Regions from separate parts of the Homo sapiens genome. Here region 2 is linked to region 1. Evidence: promoter capture Hi-C in human tissues and cell types (Jung and others, 2019). All regions are on one chromosome and are shown on one strand. Each heading gives the region's core, a stretch centred on a gene start or on the middle of the fragment in contact. The rest is flanking DNA. Distances are from core to core; before and after follow the strand shown. Region 1 holds the start of PGAM5 (PGAM family member 5, mitochondrial serine/threonine protein phosphatase). Region 2 holds the start of ZNF891 (zinc finger protein 891).

Evidence for each region. The method cuts DNA at HindIII sites, captures the fragments that hold promoters and counts their contacts. A contact is called where the count stands out against the background at its distance.
Region 2: a contact is called between the fragment with the promoter of ZNF891 here and the fragment with the promoter of PGAM5 in region 1, in 1 of the 25 tissues and cell types used here (liver).

The regions. Positions count from the first base shown.
Region 1 is chr12:132,709,123-132,716,389 of GRCh38, reverse strand. PGAM5 (PGAM family member 5, mitochondrial serine/threonine protein phosphatase) reads right to left here and starts at 5,548. Exons shown (of 6, transcript NM_001170543.2): 1 at 5,323-5,548; 2 at 1,354-1,532. The coding sequence starts at 5,513. LOC124903063 (a long non-coding RNA gene) reads left to right here and starts at 5,795. Exons shown (of 2, transcript XR_007063551.1): 1 at 5,795-5,896. RefSeq lists silencers at 5,032-5,141, 5,352-5,811 and an enhancer at 5,982-6,031. The HindIII fragment of the contact is 20,255 bases long and covers 18-7,267 here.
Region 2 is chr12:133,126,374-133,132,831 of GRCh38, reverse strand. ZNF891 (zinc finger protein 891) reads left to right here and starts at 2,558. Exons shown (of 2, transcript NM_001277291.2): 1 at 2,558-2,605. ZNF10 (zinc finger protein 10) reads right to left here and starts at 2,205. Exons shown (of 5, transcript NM_015394.5): 1 at 2,078-2,205. RefSeq lists enhancers at 571-740, 1,823-2,102 and silencers at 2,153-2,392, 2,763-2,942. The HindIII fragment of the contact is 13,822 bases long and covers 1-6,458 here.

The DNA.
Region 1 (7,267 bases), core at 4,299-6,798:
AATTAGGCTGGGTGTGGTGGCTCACGCCTGTAATCCCAGTACTTTGGGAGGCCGAGGCGGGTGGATCACAAGGTCAGGAGATAGAGACCATCCTGGCTAACACGGTGAAACCCCGTCTCTACTAAAAATACAAAAAAATAGCTGGGAGTGGCAGCGTGTGCCTGTAGTCCCAGCTACTTGGGAGCCTGAGGCAGGAGAATTGCTTGAACCCAGGAGGCAAAGGTTGCAGCGGGCCAAGATCACGTCACTGCACTCCAGCCTGGGTAACAGAGCAGGACTATGTCTCAAAACAAACAAACAAGCAGACGCCAGGCATCAGGCCTGTGAGTGCCACAGGCCGCAGAGAAGCGTCTTTGGCAGCAGGTCCAGGTGAGCAGCCGAGGGCACAAGCCACGCCGCTTTCCAAGGCATCAAGCAGGTATAAAATCACTGCTGGGATATGCACTGCATTTGGTCTCATGCAAACAAGATCTGTCCAACATTTGCTAAAAGTTAAGGGCTTTTTTTTTTTGAGACGGAGTCTCACTCTGTTACCTAGGCTAGAGTGCAGTGGTGCAATCTTGGCTCACTGCAACCTCCACCTCCCAGGGTCAAGCAATTCTCCTGTCTCAGCCTCCTTAGTAGCTGGGATTACAGGTGCCTGCCACTGCACCCGGCTAATTTTTGTACTTTTAGTAGTGACGAGGTTTCGCCCTGTTGGCCAGGCTGGTCTCGAACTCCTGACCTCAGGTGATCCACCTGCCTCGGCCTCCCAAAGTGTTGGGATTACAGGCGTGAGCCACCGTGCCTGGCCAAGGTAAGGACATTTTTTTTTTTTTTGAGACGGAGTCTCGCTCTGTCGCCCAGGCTGGAGTGCAGTGGTGCGATCTCAGCTCACTGCAAGCTCCGCCTCCAGGGTTCACACCATTCTCCTGCCTCAGCTTCCCGAGTAGCTGGGACTACAGGCGCCCACCACTGCACCTGGCTAATTTTTGTACTTTTAGTAGAGACAGGGTTTTGCCGGGTTGGCCAGGCTGGTCTCGAATTCCTGACCTCAGGTAATCCACCTGCCTCGGCCTCCCAAAGTGCTGGGATTACAGGCGTGAGCCACCGCGCCCGGCCAAGGTAAGGACATTTTGAAAAGCTTGTCTTCTGTCCAAGTTCAGCTGACAGTTACTGGTAATAATGTGTGATTCAGGGGTGATGGTCTCGGACATGGGCCCCAGGAGGCCCAGTGCCCCAAGCACTTTCAAGAAAGCTGACCAAGGGGGTCGGCGGAGGACCTGCACCCAGTCACATAACCAAGGCGCCAGCAGATATGCACCTGGCCACATAACCACGAGGGTCCACAGAGGATCTGAACCCACCACATACCCAGCGGGGTCAGAGTGCGGTCCTTCTCCAGGGAGCCATCCACGTGGTACTGGGAATGCCTGATGAGGAAGATGTGCCGCGTGGCCTTGGCTTTGTAGTGGTCCAGCTTGGACGCCAGCTCTTCTTCCCCAGATTCCACGTTCCTCTTCCGCACGTTGATCAGAGACAGTGGTTCTCGCCTGATGTTGAAATACAAGATATGTCCTTGAGACCTCTGTTCCCAAGTTTGAGTTTTTCTGACAAGATGTTATTTCCAAATTGTCAGACTATTTGGGAAGAGCATGGAGAGAAGACAAGGCCCTTGGCACAGCCCTGGGGAGGCCTCTCTGAGCATACCGCCACTCTCCCTCCCACAAAGCTAGTGCCAGGTCTGTTCTGAGTGATGCGCTGGAGAGCAAAACAGACAAGCAAAGCCCTGTGCATCTTCTTCTCTAATGAGAGGCAGACAGTGAACAGCAGGAGACAGACTACCCCAAACGCAACTGTGGTTACGGAGAACGCCAGGCTAGGAAAGAGGACAGCGGCTATCGGGGCGCAGGCGGAAAGTGTCCACGGGGCCAAGATGGGCCTCCCTGACCATGATGCTTCAGCAGAGCCTAGAACTGCAATGCCCAACAGCAGCCACTAGCTATGAGGATGTTTCAATTCAAAATTTAAGCAAAATTAAATAAAATTAAAACATCATGTCCTCAGTCATACTAAGCACATTTTAGACCCTCAGGCCGGGTGCAGTGGCTCACACGTGTAATCCCAGCATTTGGGAGGCTGAGGTGGCCAGATCAACTGAGGTCAAGAGTTCGACACTAGCCTGGCCAACATGGTGAAATTGCACCTCTACTCAAAATACAAAAATTAGCCGGGCTTGGTGGCACACGCCTGTGATCCCAGCTACTTGGGAGGCTGAGGCAGGAGAATCGCTTGAACCTGGGAGGCGGAGGTTGCAGAGAGCCGAGATCGTGCCACTGCACTCCAGTCTGGGCGACAGAGTGAGACTCCGCCTCAGAAAATAAATAAATAAACAAACACTCAGTGAGGAAGAAAACATTCCCATTATGAAGGTCTGTTCCAGAGCTGCTGGAATCTGAAAAAGAGTGGATCCCAGCACTTTGGGAGGCCGAGGTGGGCAGATCACTGGAGCCCAGGAGTCCAAGACTAGCCTGGGCAACACAGGGGGACCCCGTCTCTACAAAAACATTAAAAAATTAGCCGGGCAAGGTGGTCCACAGCTGTAGTCCCGGCTACTCAGGAGGCTGAGGTGGGAGAATTGCTTGAGCCTAGGAGGGAGCCATGATCTTGCCACTGCACTGCACTGCACTCCAGCCTGGGCAACAGAGCGAGACCCTGTCTCAACAGCAACAAAAAAAGTTCAACGCGGCAGAGCTGGGAATAGCAAAAGTCGAACCTGCTGGTATTTACTCGCTGAGACAGTGGCGGAAAAGGAAGCTGTGGAAGGGCACGGTGGTGACTCAAGGGCTCCGTTTGGGCCACGCCGACCTGGGGGCCTGTCATAAACCAGGCCAAGACTCAAATTGGCAGGTATGGGGGAGTCAGGCTGAGCCAGAGAAAATATTTGGGAGCTATAGGCACAGAGACAGGAAGCCGTAAACTGCATGAGACCTCCAGGAAGAAGCTGGAGATTTCACCAGATGAGGCTCTGGAACTTTCAAGTGTGGACAGGTGAGACTCAAGAAGAAACATGCTGTCTTCTAGCACCTTCCTGTAGTTGCTCATGCCTTCTGTCTGTATAAGTCTTTCCCAACCCACAAGGCCCAATTCACTTCTCCCCAGACATGACAAGCAAATACAGAACACCTGCTTAAAAGAGAAAGGCTGGGCTCAGCTCCCGGTTCTACTTCAAGTTCTTTTTTTTCTTTTTTGAGACAGAGTTTCACTCTATCACCCAGGCTGGAGTGCAGTGGCACGATCTGGGCTCACTGCAGCCTCCACCTCCTGGGCTCAAGTGATTGTCCTGCCTCAGCCTCCCAAGTAGCTAGGACTACAGGTGCATGCCACCATGCCTGGCTAATTTTTTTGTATTTTTAGTAAATACAGAGTGTCACCGTGTTGGTCAGGCTGGTCTCGAACTCCTGACCTCAAGTGATCCGCCCACCTCAGCCTCTCAAAATGCTGGGATTACAGGTGTGAGCCACCGCACCCAGCCTACTTCAAGTTCTTTAACGGCAGAGTAAATCTGTTTCCTTAAAAAGACCTAAGAAATTCAGAATATTGATTCAGAATTTCTGATTTTTCAGAATTCTGATTTTTAAAAAAGAATATAACAGGCTGGGCATGGTGGCTCATGCCTGTAATCCCAGCACTTTGGGAGGCCGAGGTGGGAGGATCACCTAAGGTTGGGAGTTCAAGACCAGCCTGACCGACATGGAGAAACCCCGTCTCTACTAAAAATACAAAATTAGCTGGGCATAATGGCGCGTGCCTGTAATCCCAGCTACTCGGGAGGCTGAGGCAGGAGAATTGCTTGAACCCGGGAGGCGGAGGTTGCAGTGAGCCGAGATTGCACCATTGCACTCCAGCCTGGGCAACAAGAGCGAAACTCCGTCTCAAGGAAAAAGAAAAAAGAAAAGAAGGAAAAAGAATGTAACTCCAGTCTAATCATGAGAAAACCTTCAGAGAAGTCTCAATTGAGGGACCTTCTACCAAACCCCTGACCAGGACGCCTCAAACACTCATGATCATCAAAACAAGTCTGAGAAATTGTCACAGCCAAAACATGCCTACGGAGGCATGAAGACTACTTGTCATGTGGGACCCTAGAACAGAACAGCAGGTAAAAGCTGAGGAAATCTCAATGAAACATGAACCTTAGTTAACAGTAATGTATTATAAACTAATATAATAACTATAATTAATCTATATTATTTTGGCTCATTAATTTTGATATATACACCATGCTTAGTGTATGATGCTAATAATAGAGGAAATAAGGTTAACAAAAGATAAAAATCTAATATAAAGTACCTAACGCAACCACAGTAGTATAATTCTGTGCCCCCTTTCTCAAAGTACTGAGTATAATGAGGAGTTAGGACTGGGAAAACCATCCTTGCCGCTAGAGCAGTCCTGGCCGACAGAAACAGAATGCCAGCAACATGTGAAATTATACATTTTCTAATAGCAACATTAAAAAGAAACAGGTGAATTTCGATCATACTTTTAATTCAATATGCTAAAAATACTATTTCAACACATAACTAATGTTAAAAACCTGCACTACTTTTTTTTTTTTTCCTTTGAGACAGGCTCTGTTGCTCAGGCTGGAGTGAAGTGGCGGGATCTCGGCTCACACTGTGCAGCCTGGGACCCCTGGACTCAAGGGATCCTCCTACCTCAGCCTCCCGAGTAGCTGGGACCACAGGCGCGCGCCACCTCGCTCGGCCAATTTTTTTTGTATTTTTTGTAGAGATGGGGGTCTCACTATGTTGCCCAGGCTGGTTTCAAATTTCTCAAGCGATCCTCCGGCCTCAGCCTCCCAAACGCTGGGATTACAGGCCTGAGCTACCGCACCCGGCCCTGCTTGCGTTAAGTTTAAATTGACGTAAACTAAGCATTCCCTTCAGGAATCACACGAGCCATATTTCAAACGCTCAATAACCGCACGCAGCTCGCGGGCGCGCTCCTGCAAACGCCCCTGAAGGAGGCCCGGCTTCCACCTCAGCCTCGCCCCGGCCCGCGCTCCGGCGATGGCACCCAGGGCGGACTCGCAGGGGCGGGGAGAAGGGCGAGGACGCGACGGAGCTCGGCCACAGAAGCCGGCGGGAAGGGTCAGCCGCCCCCGGAACCCTCCGCGCAGAGCGGCCCCGGAAAGCGGCTCCTCCGCTGGGGAAAGCAGACGGCGACCCCAGATCCCGACCCGATCGCAACCTTAAACCTGGTCCCGATCTCGATCCCAACGGTAACACCTGCCCTGACCCCCATCCCGACCCCGGCCCCAAACAGCCCCGCGCGCACCTGTCCCAGTTGGGGTCCCAGACACCGGGGCCCGGCCGCGCGCCCCCCGCCCAGGCCGGCGGCTCAGCCGGGCGTGGCTCCGCGTCCCCGCCTGCGCGCGGCTTCCCTACCGCCACGGCCGAGAAGAGCACGGCGGCCGAGCCCCCGGCCAGCCCGCAGGCCGCCAGCTGCAGCGCCTGCCGGAACGCCATGCCGCTTGCTCCCGCGCCGGCCCGCGCAGGCGCCCACGGCCCCGACGGCGCTCCGCGAGGAACACGCTTCCCCCGGCTGCCGCTTCCGGGCGGCGGGGGCGGAAGTCCCGCCTCCTGGGGCGCGGCAGGACGCGGGGCAGCCTTGCGCGAAGGGGCGTTTTCGTGGAGCCACCTGCCGCGCCACGCTCCAGTCCCGTCACTTGTGCTCGCGAGCGCCGGTGCGCGCAGGTGCGGGCGGGGTTGTGGGGACGCCGGGAGGGCGGCGCGGTACTTTCCAGAAGGTTCCGCACCGGAAGCGCCTGCCGAGGCCGGAGGCTGGGTGCAGGGGCGGAGACGCGGAGAACTTGGGATCCTGGTTTAAGGGAGCTGGGAAGCTGCCGCAGGTTTGTTTAAACGATATTTTTTTGGTGGCGGAACACGAAGTAAAGTTTTCCGTCGGCGCAGTTCCTGCGTGTGCTGTTCAAGCGGCCTGAAGTGCGTTCAGGTTCGGCCGGGCTGTCCCTCCTCCTGGTCCCGACCCCTCAAACCCCGGGCCGAACACCGCCCTCTCCTGCGGGACAGTCTTTCTATGGCCGGCGCGTTTCGCCTAGCAGGGTCCTCAGAGGGACCGCGTTAGAGCCTGGGTTTCCTTCCAGGGGGACCAGCGCTCCCTGGGTGGACCGACCCCACCGCTTACCCATTGCTGGACGCCTGCGTGCACCGACCCCACCGCTTACCCATTGCTGGACGCTTGCCCTGTTGCCATCTCCTCGCTAGCGTGAACAGTGCTGCGTGCAGATCTCTCTTTCATTGATTGTTTTGCGTCTGTACCCAGAAGTGGGATTGCTGGACCATCTCTGCCCATTTTAAAATTGGGAAATGACATGATCTGATTTAAGCTATTTAAAAATCACTTGGGCCTGGGCTCGGTGGCTCACGCGTGTAATCACAACACTTTGGGAAGCCGAGACAGGCGGATCACCTGAGGTCAGAAGTTTGAGACCAGCCTGGCCAACATGGTGAAACCCGGTCTCTACTAAAAATACAAAAATTAGCCGGGCACGGTGGCTCCAGCCTGTAATACCAGCTACTCAGGAGGCTGAGGCAGGAGAGTTGCTTGAACCCAGGAAGCGGAGGTTGCAGTGAGCTGAGATTGCCTCACTGCACTCCAGCCTGGGCAACAGAGTGAAACAATGTCTCAAAAAAATAAAAATAAAAAAACTGAATGGTTCCACAGAAATACTGAGACTTCTGCTTAAACAGGCTTTCTTGAACCTGTACGCTTCCAGTTGGGTCTGCTGCTTCCAGGTCATTTACTAAAAATGATAGGAAGATTTAAAAAATAAAAATAAAAGGAAGGCCGGGCGTGGTGGCTCACGCCTGTAATCCCAGCACTTTGGGAGGCCTAGGTGAGCGGATCACGAGGTCAGGAGCTCGAGACCATCCTGGCTAACACGGTGAAAACCCGTCTCTACTAATAATACAAAAAAAAAAAAAAAAAATAGGGCATGGTGGCGGGTGCTTGTAGTCCCAGCTACTAGGGAGGCTGAGGCAGGAGAATGCCGTGAACCCGGGAGGCGGAGCTTGCAGTGAGCCGAGATCGCGCCACTGCACTCCAGACTGGGCGACAGAGCGAGACTCTGTCTCAAAAAAATAAAGGAAAATTGGGCCGGGCGCAGTGCCTCACGCCTGTAATCCCAGCACTTTGGGAGGCTGAGGTGGGCGGATCACGAGGTTAGGAGATCAAGACCAGCCTGACCAACATGGTGAAACCC
Region 2 (6,458 bases), core at 1,309-3,808, 420 kb before region 1:
TGCTCAAAATTCTTCATAATAAAATTTTGAACAGGAAATGTTAGGATCAGTCAGCAAGGAGATATTGTGTGGAAAGAGGAAAAAATAATGCTCTTGGATGTTCATTACGAGTCAAAGAGGCACATACACAGACAAAGGTGGCCTATATCATATCTTGTCCCAACCTTGCTTCATAGCCAGAAGAATTAAAAGCCCTGGCTGACATGAGACATGCTAGAAAGAGTACTGCTGATGAAAGTAAAAGAGTCTCTTGTAGGCACAACAGAGATATTAACAATAAGAAATTTCTTTTTCCTTAAAATACTTTTTTTTTGAGACGGAGTTTCGCTCTTGTTGCTCTTGTTAATTTAAGATGTGTATCTCAAATCTCTGCCCTTGTGACTGGCATATGTTAATTAGCTGGGCATGGTGGCTGGCGCCTGTAATCCCAGCTACTAGGGAGGTTGAGGCAGGAGAATTGCTTGAACCCAGGAGGCAGAGGTTGCAGTGAGCCAAGATCGAGCCATTGCACTCCAGCATGGGCAACAAGAACAAAACTCTATCTCAAAAAAAAAAAAAAAAATTCTCAGATTTTCTTGACAATTGAATATAATCTATAAACAGAACTGTTTTTATTCTTACTCATCCTTTATTCTTCTAGTAAGAATTGCCTAGTAAGGTTTTGAAGTTTTTCTCATATAGTTCACATATATTTCTAGCTAAAATTATTTTCTTCCTATTGTGAAGACTTTTTAAAAATAAAAGTATGTGCTAACTTGTTGAGGACGGCAATCAATCTATTAGCTTATATATTTCCTTTTCAGTCACTTTACTACAAATTATTGATAGTAATTGAATCTCTTCTCATTTTGGGGACTTAATTAGTTAATTAATTAACAAGGATAATTTTGTAATCTCTTTTCCAGAAGGTAAGCCTCATATCTACTTAAATATTGTCCTAAGTAGAATTTCCAGACAGTGCTTATATAAAATACTGATAAGCAGAAATTCTCATTTAATTTATGATGTGTATCTCAAATCTCTGCCCTTGTGACTAGCATATACTAAGAGCTAAAGAAATGCATGCTGAGAGAAGTAATCAAAAAACAAATGTAACTTTCAAAAAGAGGCAGGAGCGTGTGCAACTTACCATCCAAGAGGCTTTGGAAGATGGGGGACAATTTTAGTAAAACAGAAGAGATTAGTTATGTCACAAGAGAAAAGTTAGTGTGGAGGTAATTTTCAAAAGGGTAGGGAGGATTTGTGCTATCCAGTTCTCGGAGACCTAACTGCAGTCATTTCTAACCTAATAACACTTGTTGGCTGGCATTCTGGGTGACATCCTGCCTTCCCTTTTACTTTTTTTTTTTTAATTAACAGTATCTTTCTGCAATTAATGTATAGCTGGAATTGAAATTGTTCACCTTCTGCATACACTTTGGGTGGGATCTACGTACGAAATCTTGATGTTAACCTTATCTTTGACACTCATATTATGTGTTAGATGGCGTATATATATCTAGTGTCAAGGGAAAATAAAAATATAGTAATTAAACTTATGATCTGTCTCTGAAAATAAAAAAAATAGATTAACCACACAAACACGCCTTCAGTTAATCTATCTGATTAAAAAACAAAACAAAGATGAGGAAGCTAAGAGCTAGAGATGCAGGATTTGTTTTTAAAAGACCACACACGAATCGGCGTCACTATTTCAACAAATACTAGAAAGGCCATATGCAAAATTTTAAACATCTATCCCAGCTGGGGGGAAAAATGGAAGTTAGACTAGAAGAAACCTTATTTTGTATTACTGAAAATATCTGGTTCAAACTTACCACCACCGCCGCCCACTCTGCGTCAATCTCCAGGTGCAGCCGTTATTCTCCACAGAACAAGAACGTCCGCCGTGAACGCCGGGGCCGCGCGAGGGACAGAAAGTGACTGAGGCAAGGGGTGACGATCACCGTTAAATTTTTTCATTGACGAAATTACCGTCTACCTAGAAATACGAAGCTAATACACTGCTACATTACTAAAGGGCTCAACACGCGCCTGATGACGATGCAAACACAAAATTCAGCACTTTCGTATATACCTGCAATAAGCAACTAGAAGGTTCGATGGGAGAAAGCGATCCCGTCACAAAGGCAGCAGCAACAGCAAAACAGAGAACGCGACTCCATTCACCAGCGGAGCGCGAAGAGCGGCGTCAGAGGTGAGTCTGAGGCCGGCTCGGCACGGCGGCGCCACCTCCCCGTGGCCTGACGTCACGCACGCGCACGCGCCCCGCCCCCATTGGTCCTACGCCCGCCCCTGCTGCGAACGCACGCACACGCACCCACAACACACACCGTTACGCACGCGCCCCAGCCTGGCGTTCAGGCCACGCTCCGCCCCCAGCCCGTCAGCCGCGCGCCCCGGGACCCTAGAGCCGGCGATTCGTCGCCGGCGCCGCAGCCGCCACTCTGTGCCGGACCCTGCGGGCCTTCGGCCCAGAGCGCGTCCGTGACGCACAGACCAGGCCCCTCTGCGGGGCGGCGCAGGAGCTCCTGGGAAACGTAGTTCGGCCTCGCGTCCCCCTCGGGCGGGACCGCGGACGCCTGGAGGCAGGCACTGAGGACGGGTGAGCATGCGGGCCTGTGGCTCGTTCACCCGGGACAAGTCCCTCGTGGGATCAGCCTGGCCCGCTGAGTTCTCCTGCGTGCAGGGATCGCCTCACGGGAGTCTGAGCAGCAGGGAGCCTGCCCGGGAGGCGGCGGTGGGAGAGGCCCTTGAGGGAGGAGGGGCTACTTACCGGGTGCGAGTGGAGCGCGGGGAGCGAGTGGGGACCAGGGGCGCGCGGGGCGGAGGGGTCCCGGGCTGGCTGCGGGTGCCACGCAGGGAGCGCTGGGGGGCCGGGGATGCGCGTTTGCCTCCTTCTCTAAGCAACACGGGAGGGCTAAAGGGTGCACGCCTCTGTCCAGCAGCCTCTCTTGAATCTCTAAACCTAGTAATGAGTTGAATCACAGCCATCGTTTTTTTCACCTATTGCCTTATACTGTGGTTGAATGCGATATGGTTTTATTTCTTTAATACTCTGGTGTATTCAATTGGCTGTTTCCCTTTGACTTCACCTATGCTCACAAGATTGTGTTTTAATCTTTTTGTGTACTATCCTTGCCCGTTATACTAACAAGATTTTACAAGCTTCATGAATAATTTGGACAGCACAGTCTCTCTTCTATTCTGTAAAACAGGTCACCACCCCTCACCGCCCCCCGCCCGCCTCCAAAAGTTTGGTGCTATTTGGTCTTAAAATATTTAGTACGCATTTAACTTCTGACTCAATTTTTTTTTTTTTTTTTTTTGAGACAGAGTTTCGCTCTTTGTTGCCCAGGCTGGAGTGCAATGGCGCCATCTTGGCTCACAGCAACCTCCGCCTCCCGGGTTCAAGTGATTCTTCTGCCTCAGTCTTGTGAGTTGCCGGGATTACAGACATGAGCCACCACGCCCAGCTAATTCTGTATTTTTAGTGGAGATGGGGTTTCTCCATGTTGGTCAGGCTGGTCTGGAACTCCCGACCTCAGGTGATCAGCCTGCCTCGGCCTCCCAAAGCGCTGAGATTACAAGCGTGAGCCACCGCACCCGGCCCTGACTCAATTTTTTAAAAAGTCTCATTGATTAGGTTTTTTAGTTCGTATTCTGTTTTAGATACCTTTCCTAGATAATTGTTTTTAATCTAATTTTTCAAATTTATTGGCATAAAATTGCCCATGCTATTTTATCACTGTAAGTAATTTCTATGGTGATTTTTAAAATCACCACTTTTTAATATTTTACTGCTGTAATTGTTATTTTTTTCTTTTTTGAACCTAATTATCTAGGCCTTTTTTTCTTGATTACTCCTATAAGGTATATGTGTACATAGTCTTTTCAAAAATGTAGATTTGGTTTTGGTTTTTTTGTTGTTTTGTTTTGGTCTTTTTTGGGGAGGGGGGTCCTATTACAGTAAGTTTTGCTCTTAATTTTTAAATTTTTCTTTTACTTTGTCTCTGTTTTTCTACTTTTTTTTTTTTTTCGAGACAGAGTTTCACTCTGTCTCCAGGCTGGAGTGCAGTGGCGTGATCTCGGCTCACTGTAGCCTCTACCACCCGGATTCAAGCGATTCTCCTGCCTCAGGCCCCACCACGCCCGGCTAATCCAGCTAATTTTTGTTTTTGTTTGTTTGTTTGTTTTTGAGACAGAGTCTCTCTCTCTCGCCCAGGCGGGAATGCAATGGCAGGATCTCTGCTCACTGCAACTTCCACATCCCGGGTTCAAGCCATTCTCCTGCCTCAGCCTCTGGAATAGCTGGGATCACAGGCGCACACTGCCATGCCCGGTTAATTTTTTGTATTTTTTAGTAGAGACGGGGTTTCACGGTGTTGCCCAGGCTGGTCTCGAACTCTTCAGCTCAGGCAATCCGCCCGCCTTGGCCTCCCAAAGTGCTAGGATTACAGGCGTGAGCCACCGTGCCTGGCCATCTGCTTCTTGATTTGACTGGGTAATTAATTTACTACTCTTTATTTGTGCTCCAAGAAATGTGTGTGTACATTTTTAAGAGCTGAATATGTTAAAAGACTCATAATAAAAACAGGAAACACCTTAACCCCATCTCTTCCCAGTGGCAACCACTTGGAAATATTTAAGCAGTTCTGGCTTCGAACTCCTCTCAGTATTTTTTTATTCACCGATTTGTGACATTATTTTAAAATTTTTATCATGTTAAATAAGAACTTTGGCTGCCTTCTTTCTACATCCTTAAATCACAATGTAATTATTTTACAAATATTATAATGTAGTTCTCCCACAAATTTTGGATAAATATGTTCAGTGTTTTCATTTGATGACTACTCTTTAGTACTGAGCCATAATATGTTTCTTTCTTGTGCAAGGTTTACCTTTCTTGTTTTTAATGACTGCCTTTTTTATTCATTTGCTTAGTTTTTCTTAAATCTATGTAAAATGTCTTTTGGTTCCATTTTCCTCAAGGGCTAATCTGTCATACAGTCTTATCACTTTTCTCCTTTCCTGGACATCCCCCTGCAATGTAGATTGATCAGTTACTCTGTAGGCATGCAGCACGCTGGCATACCACTGGGCTTCCCTTTTGCCCTCATCAATTTCCTCATCTCACCTCTGTGTTAAATCTCCTGTTTCCTGTAAAGCACTTCTATTCCTGTTTGGTGGATTGTAATCTTAACTGCCTTGAAGAAAGGGTCCATATGATCTACATATATTAAAGTTGTAGAAATGATTAGAAATTACTTTTTCCTCACATTTGTGTGGTGTTTTCACCGAGTATACACATCTCAATAGGAAATTACTTTCCATTAGAATTTTGAAAGCCAGTGAAGCTAGATAGGAAATGGAGCAGTGTTACTGTTACTGTTGAGAAGTCCTATTTCATACCTTGTTCTTTTATGTGTAATCTGTTTATCATCTCTTGGAGCTCTTTGGTATTCAAAAATTTCATGATGATGTGTGTTCTAATTATTTAAAGAAATTACTTGCTTTGATGGATCAGTTCTTAGATACTGTGTTTTTTTAAGGAATAAGAAGTTTCTGGCCGGGCACCGTGGCTCACGCCTGTAATCCCAACATTTTGGGAGGCCGAGGTGGGTGGATCATGAGGTCAGGAGTTCAAGACCAGGCTGGCCAAGATGGTGAAACCCCATCTCTACTACTAAAAATAAGAAAATTAGCCGGGCGTGGTGGCCGGCGCCTGTAATCCCAGCTACTTCGGAGGCTGAGGCAGAGAATTGCTTAAACCCGGGAGGCAGAGGTTTCAGTGAGCCGAGATTGTGCCACTGCACTCCAGCTTGGGCGACTCCGTCTCAAAAAAAAAAAAAAAAAAAAAAAGTTTTCCTGTACTTGTTTGTTTCTTCCTCTTGTTTTTTCTTTCTGGAACTCTGAGTAATCTGGGGTACCTTAAATTGCTCATATAGTGGTCTTTTTTTATTTATTCTTACTTTTTCTTTTAGATCAGCTTTACTTATTTATTCATTTATTTATTGAAACAGAGTCTCACTGTGTTGCCCAGGCTGGAGTGCAGTGGCACATCTCGGCTCACTGCAGCCTCCACCTCTTGGGTTCAAGCATTTCTCCTGCTTCAGCCTCCCGAGTAGCTGGGATTACAGGTGTGCACCAACACATCTAGCTTTTTTTTTTTTTTGTATTTTTATTTGAGACGGGGTTTCACTGTGTTGGCCAGGCTGGTCTTAGAATTCTGACCTGAAGTGATTCGCCTACCTCGGCTCCCAAAGTGCTGGATTACAGGCGTAAGCCACTGTGTTCAGCCAAGATCAGCTTTCTAGAAAAGTTCCTTAAGTTTATCTTTTTTTTTTTTTTTTTTTTTGAGACGGAGTCTCGCTTTGTTGCCCAGGCTGGAGTGCAGTGGTACGACCTCGGCTCACTGCAAGCTCCACCTTCCAGGTTCATGCCATTCTCCTGCCTCA